Regions from separate parts of the Homo sapiens genome. Here all the other regions are linked to region 2. Evidence: promoter capture Hi-C in human tissues and cell types (Jung and others, 2019). All regions are on one chromosome and are shown on one strand. The core of a region is centred on a gene start or on the middle of the fragment in contact, and the rest is flanking DNA. Distances in the headings are between cores, read along the strand shown. Region 1 overlaps CMTR1 (cap methyltransferase 1). Region 2 holds the start of CCDC167 (coiled-coil domain containing 167). Region 3 overlaps CMTR1 (cap methyltransferase 1).

Region 1 (2,783 bases), core at 56-2,555, 63 kb before region 2:
AGTAGGTGGCACTCTTGCTGCCTTAAACCAGTTAGAAGTAGTGGTGAGCATTGAGTGCTGTGTGCCCTTAATAGCTGTTAATTATCCTGGGGCTCTTTTGTAAGGGAGGGCCTCTTTGCTGCGGCCGTCGAGCCTAATTTTCACTTTTTTTGCATGCATACCGTTTTCTCAATTCCTTCAGCGGTTGTGGTCAGAAGTATCCAACTACTGGAGCATTGCTGCGTTCACTGTTTGCATTAAGCGTCGAAGATTTCACTAATCTGGTTGAAACTAGCATTTTGCTTTGCCTGTCTTTTAGGGTTATTCACAGTTTCCATAGATGCTTTCTGAGGAATGGTAAAATGTCTGGGAGCTTGCCTCAAATACCTCAAGGTAAATTTGCATTTACCTTGACTTGCCAGCTGTATTAGTTTCTTAGGGCTACTGTAACAAATTACTACAAACTGGGTGACCCAAAACAACAGACATTTATTCTCTCACAGCTCTGGAGGCTAGTAGTCCAAAATCAAAGTGTTGGTGGGGCCATGTTCCCTCAAAGGCTCTTGGGAAGACCTTCCTTACCACTTCTAGCTTCTGCTGGCTGCTAGCATTCCTTGGTGTTCCTTGGCTTGTGGTAGCATAACTCCAATCTCTGCCTCTACCTTTCCTCTGTGTGTGTCTGTATCCAAATTTCCCTCTTCTTATAAGGACATCGGTCATTGGATAGGGCCCACTGTAATCTAGTATTACATTTGATGTAATCTGGAAAGACCCTATTTCCAAATTAGGTCACATTTACAGGCTTTGGGGAGGATACCATATTCAACCCAGCACACCAGCAGGCTTGCATATTGGATCCTCTGTTGGATCACTGGGAAACTGGAATGAAATTTCATAACAGATTGGTGACTGAAAGGGTGTGAAGCACCCTTTGAAGGTAGTAGGAAATACAGTTTATTCACAAGTGATAAGCTTATTGAAGGGCAGTTACTCATCAGCTGCTACTGAGAAGCTGGTCCAGAGAGAAGCTTGACAGGTGGTACAGCGAATGGAGCATCGGTGTCGCTGTAGTCCAGGCTAGATAAGAGAGTCAGTTGCAGCTTTGTATGTGGAGGTGTTCACGCCTTTAAAGCAAGCTTGTCCAACCTGTGGCCCAGGATTGCTTTGAATGGGACCCAACATAAATTTGTAAACTTTCTTAAAACATTATGAGATTTTTGGGGGATTTTTTTTTTTTTTTTAAAGCTCATCAGCTGGCCAGGCGCGGTGGCTCACAGTTGTAATCCCGGCACTTTGGGAGGCTAAGGTGGGCGGATCACGAGGTCAGGAGATCGAGACCATCCTGGCTAACACAGTGAAACCCCATCTCTACTAAAAAACAGAAAAAAGTAGCCGGGCGTGGTGGCAGGCGCCTGTACTCCCAGCTACTCGGGAGGCTGAGGCAGGAGAATGGCGTGAACCCGGGAGGCAGAGCTTGCAGTGAGCCGAGATTGTGCCACTGCACTACACGGAGCAAGAGTCCGTCTCAAAAAAAAAAAAAAAAAGCTCATCAGCTGTTGTTAGTGTATTTTATGTGTGGCCCAAGACAATTCTTCCAGTGTGGCCCAAGGACGCCAAAAGATTGGACACCTCTGCTTCAAAGTCACAGTAGATTCCAGGGTAGGTAGGAATTGAAGTTCCTGAGTAAGAAGGCAAAAACTTACTGCACGCGATGGTTCTGGAGATTCTTGAGGAAAGGGAATTTTACCTCTCACCTGGAATTTGAGCAGCTTGGTGAAGATAGAATCTCCTTGGGTAGGGGTATTGGGAGAGATGGCTTGTAAGGGAAAAAGAGAGAGTATGTCTGGGGAACAAGTGATATCTGGTTCTAAGTGGATCTTGGGGGACATTTGCTCTCAAGTAACATCTCTTTGAAGTAAGGAAAGGACAAGTCCCAGGTAAAAGAAGGTAAGTGTATAAGGGTAAGGATCCTTCAAGGAAACCGTTCTGATTTAAATTTCAAGCTTTTGTGACTGAATTGAGATTACTCTTCCCCCTTCTCTGGAAGTGGTACTATATGACTCAGTCAGGATTGACTATTGCTGTTGTGTGTGTAGAATGGAAATCCAGGCTGGGCATGGCGGCTTATGCCTGTAATTCTAATACTTTCGGAGGTCAAGGTGGGCGGATTGCTTGAGCCCAGGAGTTTGAGACCAGCCTGGGGAACATGGTGAAAACCCACCTCTGCAAAAAATACAGATATTAGCTGGGCATGGTGGCATGCACCTGTAGACCCAGCTACTCGGGAGACTGAGGTGGGAGGATCACTTGAGCCTAGGAGGTAGAGGTTGCACTGAGCCAAGATTATGCCACTGCACTCCAGCCTGGGCATCAGAACAAGACCCTATCTCAAAAAGAAAAAAAAAAGAATGGAAATCCAGAGGTGTCCAGTTCCTTGTATGTGTCTGGCAAGAGGCCACTTCGTCCTTTCATTTGCAGAAAATGAGATGGGAGGCAGAGGCAAACCAACATTTCTAGATTTCCCTAGGTTAATTTATTTTAGGAAGGGGCAGCTCTGCATTGACACAGAAACTGAGGGCAGTATCTTTATCAGCAAGACTGCTCCCTGTGCCTTCTTTCCCACCATGCCTAGCCTGGAGCAAAAGCTCAGTAAATAGTTACTGAATAGAACTGATAAAAGGCAACAATAGTATCTTTTCCAAGAAGCTTAAAATGCGTCACAGTTTTCATTTTGCCTGTCTCCTCCAGTCTGCAGAAGATCATTTCATTAAGTACTTAGCATTTATATCACCTATGTTCTGTAT
Region 2 (2,700 bases), core at 189-2,688:
AATATTTCTCAAGGGATGCCACTAAAACTACCCACATCACCATGGGGTGTGTGTGGCTTGTAAAAAAAAAAAAAATGCAGATTCTGGCCGGCTGTGGTGGCTCATGCCTGTAATCCCAGCACTTTGGGAGGCTAAGGCGGGCGGGCAGATCACTTGAGGTCAAGAGTTCAAGACCAGCCTGGCCAACACGGTGAAACCCCGTCTCTACAAAAATACAAAAATTAGCCAGGCATGGTGGCACGTGCCTGTAATCCCAGCTACTCGGGAGGCTGAGGCACGAGAATCGCTTGAACCCAGAAGGCAGAGTTTACAGTGAGCCGAGATCACGCCACTGCACTTCAGCCTGGACAACAGAGCGAGACTCTGTCTTAAAAAAAAAAAAGCAGATTCCTTGTTAAGAATGCACATCAAAGTCCTACTGAATTACTCGGGGTGTGGGAAGAGTTCAACTCTCCATTTTTAACAAGCCCTGTGACTCTATGCATGCTAAAGTTTGAGAATCACTGAACTCACTAGTAAGCCTGAAGAAGACTATGACCCTGTACCTCTCCTGCAACCTCCGGGAGGATGCCCTAAGGGAAGGAAAACAGGGGAAGCAAGATGAATTTCCAGGAAGACCACCTGTGCTTGATTCCCAGGCTCCACCACTTCCACCATCTCAGCCTGGGTTCCACCTGGAACCTCAATTTCCTCATCTGTACAAACCTCACAGGCTTGCAGTGAGGATTAACAATGCAATGAAAGTAGCACATAGCGGTTGCTCAGTATGTATGTTTTCTTTCCCTTCTATATGCAGCAAATTATTTTTAAGCCATTCAGTGACATCACCAATTCCAGAATTCTCTTTACATATTCCCAAAGTAATTTTGAAGGTACAAGCTTCCATACTCCGGAGGAAAAATTTCCCCTTTTAGAGGATATTTAAACCATTAATAATATACACCAGAATGGGCTCCCTCATCTTTGAGTCCTAGCCCTTTGGGAGTTCTCCTTAGATTCTACAGGTCCCTATTTCTCTGGGGTCTCCCTCACCTCTGTACCCATCCCTTTTGTTCTGTGTCCCCCGCTTTGAGTTCCCTCACTTCTATGCCAGGCCGTCTTTGGGGCTCCCCTTCACTTCCATGTCTCTTCCTCTCTGGAGATGCCCTCTCCAGAGAGTCTGGTTCGCCCATCCGGCACCTCCTCGGGCTCCCTGTCCTCCGGGAACCCCGTGGGCCTTCTCACCCCTCCCGTCCCTCTCCCCAAACCGCGTCGCCCTCTCATCCTACGCTTGGCTCCTCCTCCTATCTATAGCCCAGCCTATCCCTTATCCCGCGGCCAGGAGAAGGCAACTAACGAGGTGGCCCAACCCCCACTTTTCCCCTCACCTCTAGAGCGACGCCCAGATTCTCCCGCTTCTTTTTAGTCATGTTACTTGCCGGGATCCCCCAGTCATCACTGGACGCGCCCACCAAGTCGCTATGTGCGCATGCTCAAGTCTTCGTGCTTCTCCCTCATTGGCCACCGAGTCAGCGGGAGGTGGGGCTGCTGCCGTCGCCATCTTGTTGAGGGGCGCGGCCGGCTTGGTGCGGACATGTTTATGAGGGGCAACCTCTAGCTTGAGACCTCAGCCTAGATGGGTGGAGGGTGGAAAAGTCGGTACAGGGAGGCAGAATGTACAGCCCGGGAGTAGACCTGCCCCTTTCTTCCCCAGTTTTAAGCCGCTTTGCATCACTGAGAGCCTTTTTTAACCCCATGTTCTCTTTCAGTGTGTTTTGTGTTTCAGCAACAACCCCGTCCCTGTTTAGGCCACGCCCCCCATTCAAAGTCTGTCCATCCTTCAAGGCCGGTGCTGGAGCCTTGAGCTTCTCGGCCAATGGAATCTGATAATGGCCCTCTATTGTTATTTCTCCTTTGTGTCTTGACTTCTTTTTTTTTTTTTTTTTGGTTTGTTTTATTGTAAGAACAACCTACAAACATCACAGAAAACATATAACTGAGAAGCAGCATCCTTTATTCTACCAACTTTATCAGTTCCTCTTTGCTTCTGTTTATTCCTCCCAGGCTTGGCCTCACACACAGTATTTTACATTGTTGTAATCGTACTATACTGTACACCATAGACCCACGGCCTTTGAAATGTTTTGACTGTGACCCTACGATAAAAAAATGTATTTTATACCATGGCCCAGTTACCCATGAAACCAAAACCAAAGTTTCACAGTAAGTACCTTTACCTCCTGTAATGCACTCTGTTATTTTGTATTCTTGCCTATTTAATTAAAAAAAAACAAAGTCGGGCACGGTGGCTCAGGCCTGTAATCCTGTGTCTGGAGTTGGTTCCTTCAGGTGGGTTCTTGGTCTCACTGACTTCACGGTGAGTGTTACAGCTCTTAAAGGTAGCACGGACCCAGAGAGTGAGCAGCAGCAGGATTTATTGTGAAGAGCAAAAGAACAAAGCTCCCACATCATGGAAGGGGACCTGAGTGGGTTGCCACTGTTGACTGGGGGATGGCCAGCTTTTATTCCCTTATTTGTCCCCTGTTACAGAGCACTGACTGGTCCATTTTACAGAGTGCTGATTGGTGCATTTACAGTCCTTTAGCTAGACACAGAGTGCTGATTGGTGCATTTTTACAGAGTGCAGATTGGTGCATTTACAATCCTTTAGCTAGACACAGAGCGCTGATTGGTGCGTTTTTACAGAGCACTGACTGGTGC
Region 3 (2,806 bases), core at 263-2,762, 46 kb before region 2:
GCAAGGTAGTTGAGAGAGTTATTGAGCAGCCTGTGTAGGGTCACACAGTGAGACATTTCAGAGCTGAGATGCCACAGGAATCTTGTTCCTTGGAGGGCTGTGAGTTGGGCACTGCAGGGTCTTAAGGTCCCTTTCCTATCCTGGAATTCACCTTGAGGTTCTGATTCTCTGGGCAGAGCGTGTTTGATGTCTTGGATGGGGAAGAGATGCGGCGAGCTCGGACTCGGGCCAATCCCTATGAGATGATCCGAGGAGTCTTCTTTCTAAACAGGTTTGCTGACATTTCCCTCCCCTCCCCTGATGCTCCCTGCTCTACCTTTTCAATTGAGCCTAGTACATCTAGTACTTTTCTGTCTTGCTTTATTGCAGGGCAGCAATGAAGATGGCTAACATGGATTTTGTATTTGATCGCATGTTCACAAATCCGCGGGACTCTTATGGGGTGAGAACAAGATTCTGCTTCTGAATTCATGGTGCTAAGAGGGCTTAAGTTTCAGTGGCTCAGCCATTGCCATTTGTTCAATGCTAGGAGAGTATTCTGACTGTGTGATGGAGATACTTTGCTTTGAGCTCCTCAGATAGGGTCCCACAGTGCTTCTGTGGTCCCAGGAGTGAAGCAGTTGTCTTCAGGGCTTCAGTCCTGGAATCCGAGCCACTAACCCTACAGAAGGTAGAGTGGAAGGGTGAATACTGTTTTTATATAGCAAGCTTATTTTCCAAATTGAAACTTGGTGACATCACCTGATTTGGGTGCTGTTTCTGGTAATGAGAGGGGAATATGGTTTGAGTGTTGGATGAAATGTGGGCATTTCAGTGGGCATTTTCATTGATCTATTTAAAATCAGTGTTGTATCTGAAAATCTAGCCTGTGTTGTTGGAATGTGGTGAGGAGGGACATGACATAGCATTTATGAAGCAGGATGGATTACTTAAGTTTATACCTTCTTTGGGCCTCAGCTCCCTCATTCTGAAATGAGCCGTACTAACCTGCCAGAGGGCTAGGGTAGAACCAAAAGGCTCTTAAGATTTGTCCCAGCACTAAGACTGTAATTTTAGACTGGGCCACTTTCCTTCTCTGCCTCTCTGAACAAGCTTTGCGTGGGATCATAATTATAAGGCTTTGGCCCTTTTCAAGAAGTGGTAAAGCAAAGTGAGTTTCTACTCTGCTGCATCTCATTTCTCTGAACATAGACTCGCCATAGTGATAGAGAAAGAAAAAAAGGAAATTTCATTCTAGAATTCCCTTCAGGGTTTCAAAGCATTTTTACCCGGTCCTAGAAAGTTACTTTTCTTTGACAGTGATAGGGCCAGGAGCCAGCTATCCCCAAACCTGTTTCTGCTTCACTCACCCTCATTCCACTAGACCCCCTGATTATCCACTGGCTAAAGAAACTTGTTTTCCAAGTTCTTTAATGTTTCAGCTCCACCTACCTAACTGCTTCCTCCTTGCTGGCAAAACTGGCATGTAGCCCCTCCAGCCATTACTCATTTTTCACTCCCAGGTCTCCCTTCCCATTCTCCAGTACCAGCAGGCAGCACAAAAGGGCTCTTGGAATTAGCATCTTGAGAAAATTAGGTTGATATAATGTTGATTTAATTTTCTGAGCTCCAAATGATTTCCTTTAAACCCCTGCCTGGCAGAGGAGCTCTGTCAAGCTGATGGGAAGTCACAGTGTCTTTTTTGGCTTTTGTATACAAATGCCTCCAGCAGCTGGTATCTGGTTATTGCCTTTTGCTGTCATGAAAATGAAGTAGGCACCAGGGTTGTACCATTCAGGTTGAGGGTAGAGGTGTTAGTTACATAGGAAAAGGCAGCCGTGTTTGTAATGCTTCAGGCAGCTTCTTGACCTGAATTGATTGTTAGTGGCCACGGAGAATTGCCCTTTCAGAGATGTTTCTCTATGCTTCACTATAAAAAAAGTGATTTCTCTCGAGCCCCTGGTGTTTTATTTTCTCTTTTCATTTCCGTTTTCCCCTGAGGACCAGAGTTACAGCCAAGCCCCACAGGCTTGGTGTGGTTTTCAGGCCAGCAGAGACACTAGAGCAGTCCCCAGCAGAAGAGGGAGTGGCTGAAGGCCCAGGCACACACCCATGTTTGCTAGGGTCATAATGGCTCTTGGATCAGGCAAATTATAGACTAAGAGCAGGAGAATTTGAAGCTTGGAATGTGAAGATGTTAAGAGGTGATGACAAGTGATGGAGAGAGCAGACTGAAGTTTTTTTTTTTTTTCGAGACGGAGTTTCGCTGTTGTTGCCCAGGCTGGAGTGCGATGGCGCGATCTCAGCTCACCTCAACCTCCGCCTCTCGGGTTCACGTGATTCTCCTGCCTCAGCCTCCCAAGTACTGGGATTACAGGCATGTGCCACCATGTCTGGCTAATTTTGTATTTTTAGTGGAGACGGGGTTTCTCCACGTCAGGCTGGTATTAAACTCCCGACCTAAGGTGATCCGCCTGCCTTGGCCTCCCAAAGTGTTGGGATTGCACGCGTGAGCTACCGCGCCCAGCCAACTCTGAAGTTTTTAAGTAGGTCTGTGGTGCTGCAGGTTATGGTAAAGGAGAAAGGGGGCAAGGGGAGGAAAATAAAGAAGCTATAAGCAAGAACTGGAAGAGACAAAGGACGGAGGGAAATTTAGATCCTTGGAGTATATGGAAGCATATTATAAACTGTTACATTATGTCAGGGGTTCGAGTGCCTGGGAATGTTGTTGAGACAAGAATACATTGTCTGTGAAGCATTGCAGAAGACAACTGAAGGTAGATCTCTAAGTTTCAGTCCTAGCTGAGGAAATTAGACATCATTTGTC

The links. Contacts are between HindIII fragments. The study calls those that stand out against the background at their distance.
Region 1: a fragment that was not itself captured here is called in contact with the fragment with the promoter of CCDC167 in region 2 in 6 of the 25 tissues and cell types used here (IMR-90 fibroblasts, aorta, dorsolateral prefrontal cortex and 3 more).
Region 3: a fragment that was not itself captured here is called in contact with the fragment with the promoter of CCDC167 in region 2 in 2 of the 25 tissues and cell types used here (IMR-90 fibroblasts and mesenchymal stem cells).

What each region holds. Positions count from the first base shown.
Region 1 is chr6:37,436,011-37,438,793 of GRCh38, forward strand. All of the region lies in intron 2 of CMTR1 (cap methyltransferase 1), which reads left to right. Among named protein-coding and RNA genes, the nearest start is that of CMTR1, 4.2 kb to the left of the region's middle. The HindIII fragment of the contact is 3,637 bases long and covers 1-2,783 here.
Region 2 is chr6:37,498,455-37,501,154 of GRCh38, forward strand. It overlaps CCDC167 (coiled-coil domain containing 167), which reads right to left and starts at 1,439. Exons shown (of 4, transcript NM_138493.3): 1 at 1,368-1,439. The coding sequence starts at 1,409. RefSeq lists an enhancer at 1,432-1,631. The HindIII fragment of the contact is 4,936 bases long and covers 1-2,700 here.
Region 3 is chr6:37,452,871-37,455,676 of GRCh38, forward strand. It overlaps CMTR1 (cap methyltransferase 1), which reads left to right. Exons shown (of 24, transcript NM_015050.3): 7 at 177-271; 8 at 370-442. Among named protein-coding and RNA genes, the nearest start is that of CMTR1, 21 kb to the left of the region's middle. The HindIII fragment of the contact is 3,738 bases long and covers 1-2,806 here.